6 separate regions of the Homo sapiens genome follow, and all the other regions are linked to region 1. Evidence: promoter capture Hi-C in human tissues and cell types (Jung and others, 2019). All regions are on one chromosome and are shown on one strand. Each heading gives the region's core, a stretch centred on a gene start or on the middle of the fragment in contact. The rest is flanking DNA. Distances are from core to core; before and after follow the strand shown. Region 1 holds the start of HPGD (15-hydroxyprostaglandin dehydrogenase). Region 2 overlaps GLRA3 (glycine receptor alpha 3). Region 3 has its middle 62 kb from the start of CEP44. Region 4 overlaps LOC105377547 (a long non-coding RNA gene). Region 5 overlaps GLRA3 (glycine receptor alpha 3). Region 6 overlaps LOC105377547 (a long non-coding RNA gene).

Region 1 (2,500 bases), core at 1-2,500:
AACAGCTTTATAATCAAAGCTGTTTATTGTGTATGCCAATATTGTCCCTGATACTTCACAAGTAGATTGGTCTATTTTAAGTGAGTAGCCGGAAACAGGAAAGCATTGAGGAAAGGCTGATAGAGATGTTTCTACTACAATTCTAACATTGTATACTTTATTATGATTACTATTATTATTATTTTAAAGTACTGTCTCATTGGGGAAAAAGCCGGAGAAAACATATGGTCAAAAGCATCTAGCACTTCTGTGATGATGCTCCTTGAACTTGTATTCTGATATGTTTAAACGAAAAACACTGCCACATTTGATTGTCATTGGACTCCAGCTTTCTGGGAGAAGTTGTTTGTCAACAGTACCTTACTTAACCTACTTTAATTTTCCAAGTTTTGTCTGCAATTTCAATCATTTAATAATTACTGCAGCAGCACTGTCTTTGAATACATAAAGGAATTTTGATTACATTAATGCTGCCAAATGACTACAATAAAAGGATTTCTCCAGCAGTCTTGCCTTTCTTTCGGTTTTACAGCTATTGGGCTGTCAGAAGGAAACGTATCAGTCCAAACTGTCTTTTGGAGCTTCAAGGTAGCTGCTCTCGAGGAGGCAGCGGAGGCGGCACCCAGGGCCCCCTGGCCGGGCTGCCTTCAGGTTGTTGCTTGTTGAGAGCACGTTCCCAGTTGACAGATTGATTCCCCTGTCTTACCTCTCAGTTGTTGCTGGTCAGCCACATCGCACTGGATGAACAGAGTCTTCTGAGGTTCAAACTGCTCATCCAGGGCAGCTTTACACTGTACACCTGCTTCAAGATTCCAATCCACCAGCGCTACCTATAGACAAGAGGAGAGGAATCGCGGGCCTGCGCAGCTCACGAAATAGACGGACAAACAATAAACACACAAGAGGCTCCCCTCCTGGACCTGAAATTTGGCAATTAGGTTTGGGTTCCCTCCCAGCCACTTCTGAGGTGTGCTCACAGCCTCAGCTTCAGCAAATTTTGGAAGTGGCAAAGTGGGCACGCCGGGCGCGGCCTCCCTGTCTCCGCCAGTGCACCTCGGGCGGCGGGGCGAGTCTCGGAGTGTGTGGGCAGAGAAATTTCCGCGGCTGGGCGCCGGGCTTACCTTGGCGCCCTTAAGCAGCAGCGCCTCTGCAAAGGCTCTGCCTATGCCCTGAGCCGCGCCGGTCACCAGCGCCACTTTGCCGTTCACGTGCATGGTGCAGCCACTGCTGGGGCGGGCGGTGGGCGAGCTCCGCGTCTCCGCGCGGCCGCGGCTTTTATGCCCCCCTGCGCGCGCGCGCGTGCAGCCCGGCGGGGCGCTCCCCTGCCAGTGGGCGGGGAGGAAACTGTCAAGCCAGCGCCCGCCGGGGAACCCACGACTGTGTCACCTGCCCCCTGAGCGTTCTGGAGCGCCAAGCTTCGCGATCTTTGCCTTCCGGACTCGCAGACCGGCTCAAAGCCTCCCCTCAGCCTCTGGCTCCGTGATTGGCAGGCAGCTGACAGAAGAAAAGTTAAAAGGTTATTTCTGAAGAAGAGTTTCCTTCAGTGCCCTAAAGACCAACTGGATAGAAGGAGAGCGGAGCAGAGGCTTGGAAGCTTGGATCCCTCCTCCTGCACTCCCTCCCGGCCCCGACTCCGGAACAAAACAAGCAAACAATAAAGCAAACTTGTTGCTCTTTTGTCTCAAAGTTTTGTGTGAGTTCCCATCTCGTAATCAGTGGGGTTGAGGGTGACGGGGAGCAGAAGTAACTAATATCATTGTGTTTTCTTAGTTACATTTTGGACAAATTTTTACGGATACTGGAGATGAGAAGTGGACTCTGCTCTGTCCTGAAAACCTGGAATCATAACATTTCATGGCTAGGACTAGAGTGTCCTTGGCGCTGTGTTTCTGGTCAGTGTCAATTGTGTGTCATATTGAGATGCCCCCACAAAAACTGTCATCATCAACAGGCGCTCCAGAGCCGCTGGTAGCCTACCAAATTGTTGGCTCAATGGAATGCTTACTTGTTGAAATACACCAACTTTGGAAGCTCTGAGTCAAGTTTGGGACAGAGGTTCCTTGCTCTCCAGGAACTCCAGGGCTAGCTGTATGCGGACTTGCATAAATAACAAGGGCTATTCCACTGACTTTGTCTCTTTTTCTCAGGTTGTCAGCGGCAGGCTGCAATTTTAATTCTGTAAACGTAAGTGGTTGGCTTTTTTTTTTTTTTTTTTTTTTTAATCTTGAGACAAGATCTCGCTCTGTCTGTTTGGCTAGAATGCAGTGGCATAATCCCAGCTCGCTGCAACCTCAATCTCCAGGGCTCAAGCGACCCTCCCACCTTGGACTCCCAAAGAGTGCTAAGATTACAGGCATGAGCCACTATGCCCAGCTGGCATTTATTTTCTTAAAGAAAAAAAAAATCTAAATACTTGGGGGAAATGGGAGTTGAGCAAAAGACTGACACTAACAGCAGAATGAATCATTTTTATATCTTCTTTACCTTCTTTACTGGGAAA
Region 2 (4,179 bases), core at 822-3,321, 200 kb after region 1:
AGTGATACATAACTTGTTATGAAAAATTCAAACAATATAAAATTACATATAGCAAAATGTACAGTTCCCCTTTATTCCTGCCCAAATTCCACTATTCCTATTCATTTCTAAATTGTTTGGGGTTCGTCTAAACTTCTTCTATAGACATATATATGTATATTTTTACATACATAGCTATGCATATATATATTTGTGTGTGTGTGTGTATATATATATGTATATATATATATATGCCTTAAAAATATACAAAACATTTTTCTTGAACTGAAATATATCATGTAGGCTTACACTCAGGTCTATCTCATGCAAGTTATTTCATAATATGGGGTTATTACTGTGTTCAGTCATGTTCTTATTAGTGAACATATATAGGCCCTTTTTTGTTGCTATTTCAGTGTTTCAGTGGGTCTCTTTGTAAAAGATATCTTATGTACACATACATATGTAATTTAGATTCCTAGAAATAGAAATGCTGAATTGAAGGATAAATGAGTTTCATATTTTTATATATCTTGACAAATCCTCTTCCCAGTTAACATCAAGTCATGTGACCACAGAAGGGCTATTAGACAGCTCGAAATCTTACCGGTCTCATTAACTTCTGTCAATGCATTTATAAAAAAAGTTATCTCATTTGTTTCTTTCATTTTCCCCTTACATCTGTCTTATAATTTTTGCTTGAACTGTCAAATATAATTTAGGAAACTCAAAATGAGAAGGAAAGTCTATTGTATTCACTCATATTTTTGCTTCCTGTGTCCTTTTTTCCTTCTTGATATTCGTATGCTTCTTCTTTTATCATTTTCTTTTTTTTAGAAAGCTTCTTTGACCATACTTTCCAGGCAGATTTACTTGTGATTAATTCTCTATTTTCCTTTATCCAAGAATGTTTTGATTTCCCCTTTATTCCCGAAGGATATATTCCCTGGGTACAAGATTCTCAGATGAGAGTTCCTTCCTTTCAGCACCTAAAAAAATATTTGTAGCTTCTTTCTGGCTTCAGTGACGTCTAGAAAAATCTACTCTCATTCTCATTGTTTTTCCTGCATAAGATATCACTATTTTCTGGATGCTTTCAGGATTTGTATTTAGTTTTCAGAAGTTTATGCATTATGTGTCTTCATATGGACATCTTTGGATTTATCTTGTTTGGGAACTCAACTTCTTGAATCTGCAGGCTCACGCCATTTGCAAAATGTATTAACATTTCAGCCATTGTTTTCTCTAGTTTTTTTTAGCTTCATACCCTTTCCCCCTCTATCTGACACTCTGATGACATGAATGTTAGATCATTTGTTGTAATCTCACAGATCCCTGAGGCTGTTTCCCAGGCCCCACGGCCAATCTATTCATCTCTGTTGCTCAGATTGGGTAATTTTTGTTATTCTGTTTTATGGTTCACTGATTCTCTTTTCCATCTTCTCCATTTTTTTTGGTCCACCCATACACTGAGCTTTCATTTTGATTATTGTATTTTTAGGTCTAAAATTTTGATTTGGTTTCACTTTGTAGCTTCTATTTCTTTGCTGAGGCTATTTTTCTCATTTGTTTCAAGCATATTTGTAATTGCTCACTGAAGCAAATTTATCATGGCTACTTTAAAGTCTTTGCCAGATATCTAACATTTTTGTCTTTTCTTTTGAGACAGGGACTTGCTTTTTTACCCAGGCTGGAGTGCAGTGGTGCGATCTGGGCTCACTGCAACCGCTGCCTCTTAGGCTCAAGAGATCCTCCCACCTTAGTCTTCCTAGTCACTGGGAACACAGGTGAACGCCACCTTGCCCAGCTAATTTTTGTGTTTTTTTGTAGAGACAGGGTTTTATCACGTTGCCTGGGCTGGTCTCAAACTCCTGGGCTCAAGCAATTTGCCTGCCTCAGCCTCCCAAAGTGCTGAGATTACAGGGTGTGAGCCACCACTCCTGGCCTCATCTTTGTCATTTGGATGTTGCTATCAGTTGATTGTCTTTTTCCAGAATTATTGAACATTTATGGTTCTTTGTATGATTTCTGGTTCTTTGTATGATGAATGTTTCTTGGTTGAAGCCTAGACATATAAATACTATTTTATTAGACTCTGGCTCTTATTTAAACTTTTTTGGTTTTCTCTGACATTGCTCTGCTTAGGCAAGGGAAGGTGTTATCTTGTGTCTGTTTCCTAACCACTCTCTATACAGGCCTGTGAGGGGAGAGGCTCCGCCTTATTGCTGGATGTCCCAGGTGTAAGCATGATGTCCACTGACACTATGGTGAGAGTGGCCTCAGAACTGCTAGGTGATGTTGAAAATATTGACTGTCCACTAAGTCTTCTCTAAAACCACCTCAGCAGAGAGGGAAGGTATGCCTTGTTTCTGCAGGGAAAGGGAGGAATTCCTGGCTTTCTATGTGGTCTTCCTGGCTCTGTGAGGTATGAAGCTCACTATAGGATGGTGGGGCATGAAAATCCAGTTCATTATTTGTCCTTTCCTGACACTATCTTGAGTTAGGTGTGATGGTACCTCAATACCACCTGGTAAGACTGGAAGTCTGGGCTCCCCATTTGGGCTTTGCTGTCTTAAGGGGGATTGCATTTCTTCCTGTGGTGTTGGGCTGGAGTAGAGCAGTTGTCTAAAGCTTTTCTGTCTTGCTAGGCTTCCCCTTTCCTAACCTCTAGGGAATATTAGATTTGCTAGAGAAATTAGGCTTTTGTTGGGACTTTGATTTTTGTCTGTACCTGCTGATGTTGCCATGTTGCCAGTTTCTTCATCTTCAAGTCTAGGATGTACGAAGCAAAAGGAAAATTCTGGGAATTCACCTCCACGTTGTTCCTCAGGTTCCAAGGTACACAGCCAGCCTGTGCTTATATCCACCACTGGGCATCTCCCTAAGTTTGTTATACATACTGTGTCCAGGTTTTTTAGTTGTACTTAGCAGGTAGAATAGAAAAAAGTATGTCTGTTCCATCTTCCCCGAAGTGAGATTCTTGCTATCTTTTGATATTTAGTGGTGGGGCGGGGTTGGGGGAGGGGTGGACTTTTGGTAATTTTTTTAAAAGGTGCAAAATTATCTTGCATAGACCTGGAATTCACCATTAATTTACTCATCCATATGGGAGTATAGGGCTTATTAGTGGTGGAACCTGAAATCTTCCTTTGTGCCATATGTAGCAGTTAATCACTTAAGATTATATTAGTACATATTAGTTGTTTCTCAGAATTCTGATGAAAGGGTCAATTCACAATAGAGTGATGTCACCCTGTCACTTTTAGAAATCAATAAATCTATGGAAAAGAAATCTGTTCTCATGAACTAGGTAAATGTGAAAAGCAGACATAATGTATTGGGATGCAGAGATGAAGAGCAGACATGGGATAAAGCATTATTTATAAAACCACTTTGCAGAAAAAAACATTTTCAAAATCACTAAGCTATTAAGATTACATTTTAGAATCCTACTATTTTATCCCTGATATTGGGCATATGAACTCCAAATCAAATACCCCCATTCCTGATGAGAAGGAAAGTTTACAAAAGAGAAGATAAGAGAGAGATAAAACAGAATGAATTAATTTTAAGCCTAAGACCTCAATATTAAGCCTACCTTGATACCTTTTAAAACATGATACTGGTGAAAAAAGTATTTAAATATTTGGCTCTTGCTAGAAGTATAACATATTCTCCCTCTTCTAAGAGACATGACATGAATTCTGTTCTTACGTCCTGTTCTTCACAACTAAACTAAATTAGAAAAACAATTATGGAAAATTTTTAAATAATCACTATTTTAGAAGATTTTTTCAGATGTGACAAAGATCATCAAATATATCATGTAAGTAGCTATTTACTGACTCTACATTTGTTTCATATTTAATGAACTGCCAAAGTTAAGTGAATCCTAGAGTTCAACTGTCAAAAATTTTTATTAGTGTTTATTGTTTGGTATTAATTATTATTCAATATTGGGTTTTTTTTAATGCTATACACTTTTCTGATAAGTCAATAATTAGGAACATAAATGTAAATAAGGTCTTTTCCAGGGATTGTGATTAAGGTTTTGTCATCCATTTTCACATAATACAGTGATTTTTTTTCTTCCCTGCCTTGTTCAAAGTTTATTAACAAATCATCACTTTGCAGCATGTTAGAAAGGATGAAACTTGAACAGTTAGGGCAAAAATGCAAAAGAATGACCAGAGAAGCTCA
Region 3 (4,179 bases), core at 764-3,263, 180 kb before region 1:
TGAATTGTGCCTTTGGGGTTGTAGATAAAAACTCATCACCAAACCCAAGATCAACTAGATTTTCTCCTATGTTGTCTTCTAGGAACTTTATAATTTTGTGTTTTACATTTAGGTCTCTGATCTATTTTGAGTTTTTTGCAAAGAGTGAAAGGTTTATGTCTAGGTTCATTTTTTTGCACTTGCACGCCAGTTGGTCCAGAGCCATTGGTTAAAAAGAATGATACATATTTTAAAATTCCTTTTCTTTTCTTTTTTTTTTTTTTTTTGAGATGGAGTCTCACTCTGTTGCCCAGGCTGGAGGGAAATGGCACAATCTCAGCTCACTGCAACCTCTGCCTCCAGAGTTCAAGCAATTCTCCTGCCTCAGCCTCCTGAGTAGCTGGGATTACAGGAACTCGCCACTACGCTCAGCTAATTTTTTGTATTTTTAGTAGAGACAGGGTTTCACCATGTTGGCCAGGATGGCCTTGAACTCCTGACCTTGTGACCTGCCCGTCTTGGCCTCCCAAAGTGCTGGGATTATAGGCATGAGCCACCACGCCCAGCCTTTGTGCCAGTTTTCAAAGGGAATGCTTCCAGCTTTTGCCCATTCAGTATGATATTGGCTATGGGTTTGTCATAAATAGCTCTTATTATTTTGAGATATGTTCGATCAATACCTAGTTTATTGAGTGTTTTTAGCATGAAAGGGTGTTGAAGGCCTTTTCTACATCTACTGAGAGACTTATGTGGTTTTTGTCATTGGTTCTGTTTATGTGATGGCTTACGTTTATTCATTTGTGTATGTTGAACCAGCCTTGCATCCCAGGGATGAAGCCAACTTGATCATGGTGGATAAGCTTTTTGATGTAATGCTGGATTCAGTTTGCCAGTATTTTATTGAGCATTTTCGCATTGATGTTCATCAGGGATATTGGCCTAAAACTTTCTTTTTGTTGTTGTTGTGTCTCTGCCAGGTTTTGGTATCAGGATGATGCTGGAGTCATAAAATAAGTTAGGGAGGAGTCCCTCTTTGTTTCTATTGTTTGGAATAGTTTCAGAAGGAGTGGTACCAGCTCCTCTTTGAATTTGGCTGTGAATCTGTCTAGACATGGGCTTTTTTTGGTTGGTAGGCTATTAATTACTGGCTCAATTTCAGAACTTGTTGCTGGTGTATTCAGGGATTTGACTTCTTCCTTGTTTAGTCTTGGGAGGTTGGGATGGTGTTTATGTGTCCAGGAATTTACCATTTCTTCTAGATTTTCTAGTTTTTTTGTGTAGAGGTGTTTAAAGTATTCTCTGATGGTAGTTTGTATTTCTGTGGAATCAGTGGTGATATCCCCTTTATCATTTCTATTGTGTCTATTTGATTCTTCTCTCTTTTCTTCTTTATTAGTCTGGCTAGTGGTCTATTTTGTTAATCTTCTCAAAAAACCACTCCTGGATTCATTGATTTTTTTTGAAGGGTTTTTCATGTCTCTATCTCTGTCAGTTCTGCTCTGATCTTAGTTAGTTCTTTTCTTCTGCTAGCTTTTGAATTTGTTTGCTCTTGCTTCTCTAGTTATTTTAATTGTGATGTTAGGGTGTCAATTTTAGATCGTTCCTGCTTTCTCATATGGACATTTAGTGCTATAAATTCCCCCTAAACACTGCTTTAGCTGTGTCCCAGAGATTCTGGTATGTTGTGTCTTTGTTCTCATTGGTTTCATAGAACTTATTTATTTCTGCCTTAGTTTCATTATTTATCCAGTAGGCATTCAGGAGCAGGTTGTTCAGTTTCCATGTAGTTGTCTGGTTTTGAGTGAGTTTCTTAATCCTGAGTTCTAATTTGATTGCACTGTGGTCTGAGAGACAGTTATAATTTCTGTTCTTTTACATTTGCTGAGGAGTGTTTTACTTCCAATTATGTGGCCAATTTTAGAGTAAGTGTGATGTGCTGCTGAGAAGAATGTATATTCTGTTGATTTGGGGTGGAGAGTTCTATAGATGTCTGTAAGGTCCACTTGGTGCAGAGCTGAGTTCAAGTTCTGAATATCTTTGTTAATTTTCTGTCTCGTTGATCTGTCTAATAATGACAGTGGGGCATTAAAGTCTCCCACTGTTATTGTGTGGGAGTCTAAGTCTCTTTGTAGGTCTCTAAGAACTTGCTTTATAAACCTGGGTGCTCCTGTATTGGGTGCATACATACTTACGATAGTTAGCTTTTCTTGTTGCATTGATCCCTTTACCATTATGTAATGCCCTTCTTTGTCTTTTTTGATCTTTGTTGGTTTGAAGTCTGTTTTATCAGAGACTAGGATTGCAACCCCTCCTTTTTTTTTGCTTTCCATTTGCTTGGTAAATATTCCTCCATCCCTTTCTTTTAAGCCTATGTGTGTCTTTGCATGTGGCATGGGTCTCCTGAATACAGCACACCAATGGGTCTTGACTCTTTATCCAATTTGCCAGTCTGTGTCTTTTAACTGGGGCATTTAGCCCTTTTACATTTAAGGTTCATATTGTTATGTGTGAATTTGATCCTGTTATTTTGATGCTAGCTTGTTATTTTGCTCATTAGTTGATGCAGTTTCTCCATAGTGTTGTTTTTCTTTATATTTTGGTATGTGTTTTGGAGTGGCTGGTACCAGTTTTTCCTTTCCATATTTAGTGCTTCCTTCAGGAGCTCTTATAAGGCAGGCCTGGTGGTAACAAAAATCCCTCAGCATTTGCTTGTCTGTAAAGGGTTTTATTTCTCCTTCACTTATGAAGCTTAGTTGGGCTGAATATGAAATTCTGGGTTGAAAATTCTTTTCTTTAAAAATGTTGAATATTGGCCCCCACTCTCTTCTGGCTTGTAGGGTTTCTCCAGAGAGATCCGCTATTAGTCTGATGGGCTTCCCTTTGTGGGTAACCTGACCTTTCTCTATGGCTGCCCTTAACATTTGTTCCTTCATTTCAACCTTGGTGAATCTGATGATTATGTGTCTTGGGGTTCCTCTTCTTGAGGAGTATCTTAGTTGTGTTCTCTGTATTTCCGGAAATTGGATGTTGGCCTGTCTTACTAGGTTGGGGAAGTTCTCCTGGATAATATCCTGAAGTGTGTTTTCCAACTTGGTTCCATTCTCCTCATCACTTTCAGGTACACCAATCAATCGTAGGTTTGGTCTTTTCATATAGTCCAATATTTCTTGGAGGCTTTGTTCCTTCCTTTCATTCTTTTTTTCTCTAATCTTGTCTTCATGCTTTATTTTATTAAGTTGATCTTCAATCCCTGATACCCTTTCTTCCACTTGATTGATTCGGCTATTGATACTTGTGTATGCTTCATGAAGTTCACGTGCTGTGTTTTTCAGCTCCATCAGGTCATTTATGTTCTTCTCTAAACTAAGTGTTCCAGTTAGCAGTTCCTGTAACCTTTTATTAAGGTTCTTAGCTTCCTTGCATTAGGTTAGAACATGTTCCTTTAGCTCGGAGGAGTTTGTTATTACCCACCTTCTGAAGCCTACTTCTGTCAATTTGTCAAACTCATTCTCCATTCAGTTTTGTTCCCTTGCTGGTGAGGAGTTGTGATCCTCTGGAGGAGAAGAGGCATTCTGTTTTTTTGAATTTTCAGCATTTTTGCGCTGCTTTTTCCTTGTCTTCTTGGATTTACCTATTTTTGATCTTTGATGCTGATGACCTTTGGATGCGGTTTTTGCATGGGCATCCTTTTTGTTGATGTTGATGTTATTGCTTTCTGTTTGTTAGTTTTCCTTCTATAGTCAGGCCCCTCTTCTGTAGGTCTGCTGGAGTTTGCTGAAGGTCCACTACAGACCCTGTTTGCCTGGGTATCACCAGTAGAGGCTGCAGAATGCAAAGATTGCTGGCTGCTCCTTCCTCTGGAGGTTTCATCCCAGAGGGGCACCTGCCAGATGCCAGCTGGAGCTCTCCTGTATGAGGTATCTGTTGACCCCTGCTGGGAGGAGGTGTCTCCCAGTGAGGAGGCACGAGGGTCAGGGACCCACTTGAGAAGGCAGTCTGTCCCTTAGCAGAGCTCAGGCACTGTGCTGGGAGATCCGCTGCTGTCTTCAGAGCTGGCAGGCAGGAACATTTAAGTCTGCTGAAGCTGTGCACACAGCTGCCCCTTATCCCAGGTGCTCTGTCCCAGGGAGATGGGAGTTTTATCTATCAGCCCCTGACTGGGGATGCTGCCTTTCTTTCAGACATGCCCTGCCCAGAGGG
Region 4 (4,179 bases), core at 625-3,124, 160 kb before region 1:
GCTAAACGTTGGGTACTCGTGGATGTAAAGATGGGAACAATAGAAACTGGAGACTACTGGAGGGAGCAGAGAGGGAGATACATAAGCATTGAAAAATTATTGGGTACTATACTCAGTATTTGGGTGACGGGATCATTCATACCCCAAACCTAAGCATCTTAGAATATAACTAGGTAACAAACTTGTATATATACCCCTGAATCTAAAATAAAAGTTGAAAAAAATACGAATTAGACTTATATTCATAATTGATAAGTAACCACCGTGCTTTAAGCTTCCATACAGAATTTTCTTTGCTGGTAATAGTTTCTTATATATGCTAATTAAGTTGGTAAAACTCTGCTATTCTTCCATAGAATATTTGCCTAATCTGTGTTTCTTTCTCTTAAAATATCAAATAAACTTAATTTTCATGGGTTTGCTAAATATTTTTGCTCTGTCTTTAAGAGTTAGGTCAACCGAGTTGTTGGTGTTGAAATTCTCCAGCATTCAAACTATGGTTGGTCATTATGGAGACTGAAACTGTTTAGTCTCATATGCCTCTGGTAGCAATAGTTTCTCTCCCATCTCTATTTTGCATGTTCTGATTTTGCTTGTAGACTATAAAATGCAATCTAGCATAAGGACTGCCTTTATTGCTTTTTAATCCTAGCATCTAACATAGCATGTTTTGCAGATGCTCCTCAATTTACAATGAGACTGTCACAATAAACCCATCATAAGTTGGAAATACTATAAGTCAGAATACATTTAATGTAGCTAACCTACTAGACATCATAGCTTAGCCTAGCCTACCTTAAACATGCTCAGAACATTTACATTAGCCTACAGTTGGGCAAAATCATCTAACACAAAGCCTGTTTTACAATAAAGTGTTGAATATCTCACGTAATTTATTGACTATATTACACTGTGTAGTATAGTACTGGTTTACCCTCATTATCACCTGGCTGACTCAGGGCTATGGCTCACTGCCATTGCTCAGCATCTAGAGAGTGTCATACTGCATATCACTAGCCTGGGAAAAGATCAAAAGTCAAAATTTCAACTCTGGTTTCTACTGAATGTGTATCGCTTTTGCACCACTGTAAAGTCAAAAAATCATAAGTTGAACCATCCTGTCTGGGACTGTCTGTATACATCTTTGAGCTCCACAAATATATGATATTAATAATGGTACAATATTGTAAGTAATATTTTAAATTTTAGAAGAGTAGTACTTACTAGAGGAGTATTTCCTGTGTAACTGAGCACTGTGATAAATCCACCTAATACTTTAGCTCACTTGTTCCTCATAACAATCCTATTTTACAGATGAGGAAATGCACTTAGACTAGGAAACTTGCCCAAGGCTTAGGATAAATATATTTCATCTTAAAAGATAGGTGTGATTCGAGCTGTCACTGGCATTATCAGACTTTTTATATCAGATTTTATTGATGATAGATGACATAAATTGGGTTCTTAATATGTTAAGCATTGTTCTGTTAATTAACTTATCTTCACAGCAACATAAAGAGGGAGGTAGATTATTACTTGTATTTTGGAGATGAAAAATGCCGACATTGAGGGGTTTAGTAGCCAGGCCTCAGAGGTCCTGTAGCTAGCTGCTAAAATACCTTGCCAGGATTTAAATCATGGAAGTCTCTTCAATGGTATGGCTCTCTGCTGATTTGTTATACAGCCGTTTATTTAAAATTAGGTTTTAACCCAGCACATGATATGAAGATTATTTAAGATTTCATTTCCCATTTTGAATAATTTTCTGTGTTTTACTAGCCAAAGACATTTAATGTTAGTTTTCATTTTGATAAAATTATCTCATCAATATTTTTACATTACTGTCATCAAAAGGCTGTTGTTGAGATTAATCATGCAATGTGTTTAACTAGAAGATGAAATAAAAGTCACATGTTACACACAAACACACTCAACTGATTTTTAACAAAGGTACAGAAACAATTCCAGGGAGGAAGGATTTTCTTTTCAACAAATGGTGCTGGAGCAATTGGACATTCTAAAAAATGCACCTTGACTAAAACCTCATACTTTATTGAAAAATTAACTTAAAATAGATCATAGGCTTAATGATAAAATATAAGAATATAAAACATTTAGAAAAAAATCAAATAGAGAATATCTTCAGGACTTAGAGCTAGGCAAAGAGTTCTTATTGATTACACCCAAAACATGATATGTAGAAAAAGTTTTTTTATAAATTGGACCTTGTATTAGTCCATTTTCACACTGCTAATAAAGGCATACCTGAGACTGGGCAATTTACAAAAGAAAGAGAGGTTTAATGGACTTACAGTTCCACGTGGCTGGGGAGGCCTCACAATCATGGTGGAAGGCAAGGAGGAGCAAGTCACATCTTACATGGATGGCAACAGGCAAAGAAAAAGCTTGTGTAGGTGAACACCTCCTCATAGAACCATCAGAGATCTCATGAGACTTACTCACTCTCATGAGAACAGCATGGGAAAGACTCACCCTCATGATTCAATTATCTCCCACCAGGCCCCTCACACAACACATGGGAATTCAAGATGAGATTTGGGTGGAGACACAGCCAAACCATATCAGACCTCATCAAAATAAAGTGTTTGCTCTGTGAAAAACCCTGTTAAGAGAATGAAAAGGCAAGCTACACAGTGAGAGACAATATTTTTAAAGACCATATAGGACAAAGGGATTGTATATAGAATATATAAAGAATTCTTGAAAGTCAACAGTTTTAAAAATACAAAATGATCAAAAGACAGACACGTTTCCAAAGAGGAGTGGATGGCAAATAAGCACAGGAAAAGTGTTCAGAGTCATTTGTCATCAGGAAAATGCACATTCACACTACAGTGAGATACCACTGTAAACCTATCAGGATGGCTAACATTAAAAATAGTGGGCCGGGCATGGTGGCTCTTGCCTGCAATCCTGGCACTTTGGGAGGCCAAGGCAGGTGGATCATCAGGTCAGGAGTTCAAGACCAGCCTGGCCAGCATGGTGAAACCCTGTCTCTACTAAAAATGCAAAAATTAGCTCAGTGCAGTGGCACATGCCAGTAGTCCCAGCTACTTGGGAGGCTGAGGCAGAAGAATTGCTTGAATCCGGGAGACAGAGGTTGCAGTGAGCCGAGATCACATGCAACGGCAATCCAGCCTGGGCAACAGAGCAAAACTCCGTCTCAAAAAAAAAAAAAAAAAATTAGTGATAACACCAAATGCTGATGAGAATGCCGAGAAACTGAATATCTTTTACTTTGTGTGAATCAAAAATGACAGAACCACTCGGGAAGTAACTTGGCAGTTTTTAAATAGAAATATATGTACCATTTTTGTAACTTCATATTAATCTATAATTATTTCAAACAAAAAGTTAAATTACCTGTCAAAGTAAGATGAGAATGAGTTGTTATTGTATTCATCATTTTGTTGCAATGTTTAAAATAACATCATTGATAATGTACTCATAGTAGATATGTGTGGCTATTTTTTAAAAGTTTTTGTCTCAAGTTGCTTCATATTAAAATGTCTGAAACATTCTAGCATTTCAAGAATAAAAATTTCCTTTAAAATGTTAGTCATGACCTGGCAAAATTTTTTTTTTAATTCTGAACAACCACTGGGTGGCAGTAAAGGCTTGGGTTTTTGTTCATTTGCCTGGTGTTTTGTTTTTTTTTTTTTTTTTTTTTTTTGGAAAGTTGAGAAAATAAGGAACTAATTTGGTTCTGCTCTTAGCAAATAAAAAAATCTGTAGTGATAGATATTATTGCTGATTGGCAAGGTTTAAGCTGCAAATCCAATCATTAAGAAATAATATTTGTATAAGTTAAAGCAATAAATAACACACACTCTAAGGGATCATATGCAGAGTAAAACCTTATAAAAATAAACCTTGGGCTAACAGTCTGAGACGAGATGGACAATTCTAGAAAAAAAAGGAGTTTGGCATTGCGTGTTGTAATGGCATGTGGGATTTTCTGGTTCAAAATTTTACTGGCTTTCAGAAATTCTAAACAACCCCTTTATTTTTCTGTTTCCTCTCACTAATAATTAATTACACAAAATTCAACTAGTCTTCATTTCTTATTTGGAAAATAGTTTTCCTCTTTTAAATGTATATTAAAATGTCAGAATATGAGGAGAATGATAGATTCTCCTCTATAGGAGACAGAATATA
Region 5 (4,179 bases), core at 778-3,277, 140 kb after region 1:
ATAAAAGCAAGTGGATCATGTGAAATTATCTTTCAGGGATGAAAAACAAAGGGAGAAATGGATGCTGGGAAATAAGATGTAAACTTTAGTTGCAAAGGACAATCGCTGAGTGATTATATATTATAAGAGAACGTAGCAAGTACTTTAAAATAATACCAGGTCTAGACAATCTGTTATGAGGTTGAGATTACTGCAAGAATTATTTAACATTAAGTCTCTTGCAGAGATGCTTACCTGCAGTGTACAATAGAATCATCTGGAGAACTACTTATAAATATAGTTTACCCCAGAAATTAAGTTTAGTAGACAGAACTATTTGTGTGTGACTTCTCAGGCTAAATTCTTGGCTTCAGTAGATTTCTGTTTAATTATTGCATACTATATTATGAACCCCCAAGTTAAACCACGTACAGACCCAAACTATCTATTTTAGATTGCTTTCCTAATATTTAGTCATTATACTTGGACATGTGTCTTTGTGACCTCTTTTTATTTGATAATTTCAAAGGATGCTGCTATCAAAACTAAATTGTTCACTTGCTATAAGTAACCTCAACATATTTTAACATTTAGAATGGATTCTAAAGATACACAGAAGGCACGAAGCATTTTGTTGCCTTATTTTGAGGTCTCTTGTGCAGTTGCTTTTAGAATTTGTTTGTATAAATAAATTTTCCATTTATTTTCAACTAATTTTATGCAAGCATCTGAGTGTTTCTTCTCTGGTGATTATTACAAGATATATGTGATATTTCTCTTTAACATATATTTTTAAATCATTTTGACCAATCAAATAGCTCTGTTAATAAAATGAAGGGTAATATTTAAATATCCTTTTATTGATGAGAGAAGACAAGAATAAAGTTTTTAGAAAAAGAAAATACCCTTCTTAGCTGAAGGGGGATGATATTTGCTCAGCTTTCAATACAAAAGGGGCTGTGTTTCCCCACCAAACACTGCCTTGGTAGTGCAGAATATGCTGTCTGCTTTTTACTGATGACCACATTCCTCTATTTAGAGTTAAGAAAGTCAATTTACCATATCTGAGAAACGGTAAAACTTCTCCAGTGCAAAAGCTTCTGTCTGTGGGAAGGTAAAGTGGACCAAGAGGAATTGAGAAACCAGAGAATCAATTCATATATGATTAAATATAATTACACAATTGGTTGTAATTGTATATACCATTTGAACAGACATATGTAGCAATTAATAGATTTTCACATATGCAAAGTATCTACCCCAACATACAAAACTGAACTTAAAAAACCTTTTTTCTTCATTAAATCATAATTATGTTTAATTACATTTGCTCCCTGAATATATCAAGTAGTTATCAGAAAATAATAAGATATGATTGTTTTTGCATTTCTGCATTTTCCCAGGGTACCAATCACTGGAGAAAATGAATGTTTCCCTCTTTCTATGAGCTAAAGAGGAAGGAGCATCAAATATTTTAATTTCACTTTTACATGTGGTAAAACTGAATAAAGAGGCACTTTGGTAAAAATAATTTTTTAAAAGAAGGAACCAGAATTGAGCATCTAAACTTGTTGTCTAATACTTTTTCTACTGGATATTATGATTACTGGATGTGTGGTGGATGTAGGATATGTCTGAGCTTTCACAGTTTACCCATTTGGACACCGGATGCACAATACTTCTCTTTTCTAGAATTTACAGGACATGCTTGATACATTCTAAATTGTATAAGGAGAAGGAAAAAGGTAAAGAAATGGAAAACCAAAATGACAAAAAGCAAATCATAATGATAGGGAACATGCGTATTGCTTTACTTCTAATTAATGATACTAGAAGGGAAAGTGGTCTTTATCAGTTACTAGTAACGAAGAAAGACCAGAGTGTCATCCCTGTGATACAGCATTTGTACTGTCGTTGTTCAACCGGTGCCAGTTATCATGAAAGAAAAGATGAGAAAGTAGGCGGTGGAGAGGGAGAGAGAAGAGGAAGAAAAAGAGATAAAGGCAGAATGAGGAGAAATGAGAAATGTAACAGACCAGTAGACCAGGGTGAGGTGAGGGAAGAAGATAAAGTTAATCTCCCCATCACAATATGTTTCAGTGTACAAAAGATATGCGTCTGTTTTCATAAAAATTTAATTAAATGCAAGTCTTAGCCTGTTTTTTGTTCATGTATTACTAAATCTCCCGATGCTGAATGCTGATGTTCTTTCCACGTAGCTGTTAATTGTGTGTTTATTGGAGCAGTGATGCTTTTGGGAAGGCCAATTAGAAATGATAAGTAAAGTTACTGCTTTAGAATATGTTTAATACTAAGTAGATTCAAGCACTGAGAGGTCAAAGCTTAGTGCTTTTTAAAGAAGTTTAATCAATACATAAATTGCAGTATAATTTATAAAGAAACCTTAAAAAATTGAAACCTTTAAATACTTAAAAATGCACACTATGTGAACTAGACTGTTACCATTAAGGTTTATCTTTTGACAAATATGCCAGGATATTGGATCCTTGCCACAATTACACAAAATTTTGACATTATTGTCCATTGCTTTAAAAGACCATTTGCTTTTAAAATGTCTGTTGGCACATTCACATTAGAAGTAAATGCGTGGATCTGCGGTTGATAGAGGCTCTCTCTTATAGAAAAAGAAAGGGGATTGGTCAAAACCACATGCATGTCAAGGAAGATGCCATTACAGTTCTGCATAGAGGAAGAACTTCATTTAGGGCATCCAAATCCAATTAGGGGTTTACTTCTGCAACTTCCTACGGTGTCTTCATGATGTTCTAAGTTTCCTCCTGGTTTCATCACTTATCAGATAGTAGCCAGGCAACAAAAGCACTTTATTGTGTTTCCCACAGGGTTTCAAAAGAAATGTCTTTAGCTCATGACAATATGCATCAAGAAGAGACCACAGAGATTTGCATGTATTTATCATCATGGTATTAGTAAATAAGTAATATTTGATGGAAATAATGAAATGAATTAGCTCTGACAAAGGAACATGAATAATTACATTTGATGACTTATATCAAGTGAAACTATTAGAAATGCTCTAACATTGCAAGTAAGAAATGACATAATTCATTAATTAAAATTTAAAAAGTGTTGTTCCAGGAAGCGCATTAAAAAGAACTTGATATAGGTCCCATGTCATCGGATATGCTGTTTAAAGTAGAGCTAGGTGTCATCATTTTCTCCCTAAAGCTATTTTTGACACTTTTAGTTTGGATTGGAAAAAAATGAAAGGAATATTATATCATTTCATCCCCAGTCCCAATTGCTTCTCTTTTCATCTCTATTAAATACAACAAATTCACTTTCGAGTGAAAACTGGATTCTGCCAAACCCAATACGTTTAATCACTTACCTTATTCTTTCTCTTTCGTCGAAATCTCAGAAGTTCTTTGTGTTGTCTTGATACAAAATTTACAGCTGCATACTCCAGAAGTGCTGAAAACACAAAAAGGAGGCATACTGCCATCCAAATATCAATAGCTTTGACATATGAAACCTAGCCAAGAGAGAAAGAGAAAGCAAGCAAATTCACTTATATTGTTACTTCCTTTGAGAACAAAACTGAGTTTTTCTGATTCTGAATTATGTCATTTATACATAAGTTTTAAAAAATAAAGAAAATGACAATTTTTTCTTGAAGTTTCCTTAGTTATTTTTGTAAATTTTATGTATTATGAGCATTTTGTTAATTTTTTTCAAATTTAGGCAATAGCCCAAACACGATGAAAGAAAACATAAGATGAAATATAATTTTACCTTCAGAACAGTATACTGCTTGAAAAGTATGAACATTGAAATATAGATAATGCTGTTGGCTTTTTAGTTCCATATTTTCATCAATTTTTTTAAAAAAATTAAAATTGTATTTATTAATTCTGTTAAGATATTTTTCTTTCATTGCATTTATAAATAATATATGGTTATTTGCTATCTATTTTGAAATATTTTTTGACTTTTATAAAGACATGTTATAAGAATAGTGCAAAGAGGTCAGGCTCAGTGGCTCACGCCTGTAATCCTAGAACTTTGGTATGCCAAGGCGGGTGGATCACCTGAGGTCAAGAGTTCGAGACCAGCCTAGCCAACATTGTGAAACTCCATCTGTTTTAAAAATACAAAAATTAGCCGGGTGTGGTGGCGGGCGCCTATAATCCCAGCTACTTGGGAGGCTGAGGCAGGAGA
Region 6 (4,179 bases), core at 1,016-3,515, 130 kb before region 1:
CACTGTTATCTTCATCTTATTGTATATTCTTCAGATTTCATATTATTGTTATTTGTAAACATAAAAAGACATCATGCTTCTTTGGTTTAGCAACATATTATTAACCTTCTTTGCCAGTAAATATTGTTTTAAAACATTATTTTAAAAGGATGTTCCATTATATGAATATGCCACACTTAATAAAGCCTTCATTTTTGGGTGTTCAAGTTCTTTTAATTTTTTATAAATATTGCAAACATAGCTACACAATTTAACAAAACACAGTTGCAAAAACAGGTAAATGTTTGCATATATCATGAACTGCTTTCTTCAAATTAATTGGGAAATGTGTAATGAATTCAGATGACTTAAAATTGACCCCTGTTGCCATTTTCCTAATCATGGAAAAGAGTAAAATATATAAGTTACCTTTCCACCCACAACACAGAAAAATGCCACATAACAATGCTACCGTGAGGCATCTAGAGAGTGAATTATGCCTCCTCAAACTCCCAGTCGGACTAATTAAGTTTGCATAACCTGTTTCACCATGTGGCTTGGTTCACAAGGTATGGACTGCTAATGACCAAATGACTTATTAAAACATAAAGTACTCAAATCAGTTAAAAACAATAATAATAAAGCTCAACTTGGATAAATCTACTGGTAAAACAAACTACAGTTTATAGGACATCTGATAGGAAAAATAACAGCTTTTATTCCTGTACATTAGCTGTGAATTGTGATTCCATTTTTGGCTAGATCCTGACTGGAGCATACAGGAAGCATCCAGTAATCAGTTTGCTGGTGGAGTCCTAATGGTAAAAGACAAGGCAGATGAGCTAACGACTGAATTGTGGAAAGGGTCCCAGGGAGACCAGGGCTGCATAGTTCCTGTTTCTTCATTCCCTTTTCTATGTTAAGAAAAGGAGACAGAGAGAGAGAGAGAGAGAGAGAGAGAATGAGGGAGAAAAAGGGGAGAGGCAGAAAGAGAAAGAGAGGCACTGATTGGCTTGGCCCAGGAAATACTCAAGCAGATAATTTTTGGTTATTTCATCTTTTAGATCCCTGTGTCTTTGACTCTTAGAGGATCAGTTGGAGCAAACAATTTAGAAAGTGAACCCACTAAGAAATAAGCTTTAGGCAATGCATTTGGAGCCCATCAGAGAGTGTAACTATTTTGGTAGTAATTATAAGTGCAAAGTGGAAAACTAAAACTCACGTGTCCAGATCTGTCTCTGATTACAAGTCTGAAAGATAGAGAAAATGAGCAGTATAATTGAAAGGCAGCTGGCAAGTGCAGTTTTATTTCCAGATGACGTTGCCAGAAAGCTCCTCTGGTTTAAAAACACAGTCATAATTTTTAAAACAAATCAAACTGTTAACATTTTTTACTTCCATTTATTTATTTAAAAGATAGGAATATAATATATGTATATATGTATCAGGTATACCAACGTGTAATACAGAGGAAATTAATTAATAATATAAAATGTACCAAAGAATATAGAAAATAATACCATGAATACTCATGGCTAGACAAATACTGCCAAGGCTCTTTGTGTTTCCTCAACAATTGCTTCATGACATATATAAGCATTGCTAAATATTACGTAACAATTTTGTATATTCTTTAACTTCATATAAATACATTTTCTCTGTATGTATTTTTCTGTAACTTGATATTATATTTGTAAGAATCAACCATATTAATACCTGTAGCACTACGTCATTTGTTATAATGTCTATTTTGCTTGACATTAATGTAACTATATATAGGTATTTTGGTTTTTATAAGTTAGTATATGTTTTTCTATGTATATAAGTCACAGATTTGTATGTGCTTTTGCTTTATGTATGCCTCTTGCTACGATGTGAATGTTTGTGTCCCACCAAAATTCAAATGTTGAAACCTAATCTCCAATGCAAGAGTATTAAGAGGTAGAGACTTTGGGAGGTGATTAGATCATGAGGGCTCCACCCTCATTAATGGGACTAATTCCCTTATAAAAGAGGCTTGAGGGAGTCTGCCTGGTTTCCATGTGAGGACACCTAGAAAGCAACATCTACGAGGAATGAGCTCTAACCAGACACCAAATCTGCTGGGAGCTTTATCTTGAACTTCCCAGCTCCACAACAGTGAGCAACAAATTACTATTATTTTTTTCTTTCCAGAATAAATTAATTATGATACTACCAGGGTCAAAGTGAATTTGACTTTCAATTTTATATAATCCATCAATGACTATTCTCTTTTTAAAGTCTTGGCAGCTCTTTGGGGGATGGAAGAAGACCATGAAGCTCTAAGTGCTTCAGAGGAATGGGGTTGCCAAAACAGATGTGAGAGGCCCAGAGAGGAGGCTGGGCCAATGCTGAAGGTAAAGATCCAATTCACAGTTCCAGCTAAACTTGACCTTACCTGTAGTTTTAATAAAATAAAGTAACAACTATTTCTCCTAAGTGTTTACTATAGCCTGTGTAAGAAGCAAATATACTGTTGGCTTAGAAAATAATGGGTTATTGTTTTCCTTTTGAACAGTTTTCTTTTTCTCTTTATTTTTCTTACCTCCAAGCAGCACCAGAACAGATGAATTCAGTTTTCTGTGCATGTATTCTCTGGGGAGAGTCAGGGAGGAAATTTTTACTTTTGTAGCAGCTGGAAAGTACATGTTTCTTCATAGCAAGGAAAAGTTGTGTATGACACTTCAAAAGTGGAATCCTTGAGTTCCTGCTGGGGACCAGCATAGCAGCTGCAATGAGATCAAAGTTGCAATAGACCCCTTGCTCAGAAAAATTTAGAAAATTGAATCCCCTGGAACTAGATATTTATTGCTTTATGTAGTTTAGTTCAGGTTGTGATTTCAATGGGAATCTTCAATCAGAACTGTAATGAAGGTTTATCTTCCTTGAAATGAGATAAATCGGCCCAAATCATCCCCTACTTGCATAAACATACAATTTCAGGTAACAGTCACTGGTTGGTAATGTTTCTCTATTTTGTATCTAATGCCTGCTCTATTTGTTCTCTCCTCCTAGGGTATTATTTTGGGGCTGAGTGCAGAAATAAGAGATGCGTGCTAAAAGGTCATCGGTTTAGAACCAGCCCTAGATCTCCTGGGATCCTGCCCAGCTGAATCTTCCTCCTTGTAACATGGGCTTTGGGAATTTGTGAGAGATTTAAATAAAGTAAGAGACACTTAGGAAATGAATTCATAGGGCACTGGGGAAAATGCTGAGCATATAGGGGCAGGAACTATGGTTTGAGCAGAGAGGAACAGGAGATATGGAGATATTTATAGCAATGAGTTGCCACTCAGTTCATATCGGATGACTAAAATGAGGTGTGTCTGCCCTCTGAGTAACCTGAATGGAAGAAAGCCTTTTCACCTTTTATCTGCAGTGAGTAGGTGCTCCATAGAATGTTCAATCAAATCTGAACTGAAAGAAGCATTTTAAATTCACACTTCAAGAGATCACAGAACAAACAGAAATTAGCAAGAGATTTTAATTTCAATTTTCTACTTGTGATAGTCTGGTAAGAAAAAACTATAAAATAAAATAACAACCTATATTCTAGTTAGTCTCAAGCAGAATTTTTGGGGCTTGCTATTGAAAGTTCTATGTAATCATTCTTTATATTAAAAGTATATTTGCCTAGGCTCGGTGGCTCACGACTGTAATCCCAGTGCTTTGAGAGGTCAAGGCAGGTGGGTGGCTTGAGCCCAGGAGTGCGAAACCAACCTGGGCAACAGGGCAAAACCACATCTCTACCAAAAATACAAAAATTAGCTGGGCATTGTGGCACATACCTGTAGTTTCAGTTGCCTGGGAGGCTGAGGTGGGAGGCTGAGGTGAGCCCAGGAGGTCGAGGCTGCAGTGAGCAGTGACCATGCCACTGCACTCCAGTCTGGGTGACATAGTGAGACCCTGTCCCAAAATAAATAAATAAATAAATAGACAAATAAATGTATATATATTGTGTATATATATTTGTAAATATATATATTTATAAATAATTTTTATTTACAAATATTTACAAATAATTAACCCGTGGTCTGATGACCTATTCAGAAACTTGTAAGTGATGTGTTAGCCCTAGCGTTGCTATATCCCTATTTATTTTCTTCTCTTAACCTTCCACACACTGTGTTTTATTAGGATTTACTAAAGCAATGTCTTCAAAGAGGTGTTTAAGAAGGA

Evidence for each region. Contacts are between HindIII fragments. The study calls those that stand out against the background at their distance.
Region 2: a contact is called between a fragment that was not itself captured here and the fragment with the promoter of HPGD in region 1, in 2 of the 25 tissues and cell types used here (lymphoblastoid cells and stomach).
Region 3: a contact is called between a fragment that was not itself captured here and the fragment with the promoter of HPGD in region 1, in 1 of the 25 tissues and cell types used here (H1 embryonic stem cells).
Region 4: a fragment that was not itself captured here is called in contact with the fragment with the promoter of HPGD in region 1 in 10 of the 25 tissues and cell types used here (bladder, heart right ventricle, lymphoblastoid cells and 7 more).
Region 5: a fragment that was not itself captured here is called in contact with the fragment with the promoter of HPGD in region 1 in 5 of the 25 tissues and cell types used here (dorsolateral prefrontal cortex, heart left ventricle, heart right ventricle and 2 more).
Region 6: a contact is called between a fragment that was not itself captured here and the fragment with the promoter of HPGD in region 1, in 1 of the 25 tissues and cell types used here (mesendoderm cells).

Annotation. Positions count from the first base shown.
Region 1 is chr4:174,521,238-174,523,737 of GRCh38, forward strand. It overlaps HPGD (15-hydroxyprostaglandin dehydrogenase), which reads right to left and starts at 1,251. Exons shown (of 7, transcript NM_000860.6): 1 at 1,122-1,251; 2 at 707-830. The coding sequence starts at 1,214. LOC105377548 (a long non-coding RNA gene) reads left to right here and starts at 1,376. Exons shown (of 7, transcript XR_007058492.1): 1 at 1,376-1,892; 2 at 2,148-2,184. The HindIII fragment of the contact is 5,489 bases long and covers 1-2,500 here.
Region 2 is chr4:174,723,858-174,728,036 of GRCh38, forward strand. The region is part of intron 4 of GLRA3 (glycine receptor alpha 3); the gene reads right to left. Among named protein-coding and RNA genes, the nearest start is that of GLRA3, 100 kb to the right of the region's middle. The HindIII fragment of the contact is 4,814 bases long and covers 1-4,179 here.
Region 3 is chr4:174,344,140-174,348,318 of GRCh38, forward strand. No RefSeq gene overlaps it. Among named protein-coding and RNA genes, the nearest start is that of CEP44, 62 kb to the left of the region's middle. The HindIII fragment of the contact is 4,488 bases long and covers 1-4,179 here.
Region 4 is chr4:174,361,575-174,365,753 of GRCh38, forward strand. The region is part of intron 2 of LOC105377547 (a long non-coding RNA gene); the gene reads left to right. Among named protein-coding and RNA genes, the nearest start is that of MIR4276, 60 kb to the right of the region's middle. The HindIII fragment of the contact is 6,822 bases long and covers 1-4,179 here.
Region 5 is chr4:174,655,705-174,659,883 of GRCh38, forward strand. GLRA3 (glycine receptor alpha 3) reads right to left here. Exons shown (of 10, transcript NM_006529.4): 8 at 3,350-3,493; 9 at 1,039-1,083. Among named protein-coding and RNA genes, the nearest start is that of HPGD, 140 kb to the left of the region's middle. The HindIII fragment of the contact is 6,620 bases long and covers 1-4,179 here.
Region 6 is chr4:174,386,336-174,390,514 of GRCh38, forward strand. It overlaps LOC105377547 (a long non-coding RNA gene), which reads left to right. Exons shown (of 7, transcript XR_001741920.1): 3 at 2,242-2,357; 4 at 3,016-3,165; 5 at 4,138-4,179. Among named protein-coding and RNA genes, the nearest start is that of MIR4276, 35 kb to the right of the region's middle. The HindIII fragment of the contact is 4,777 bases long and covers 1-4,179 here.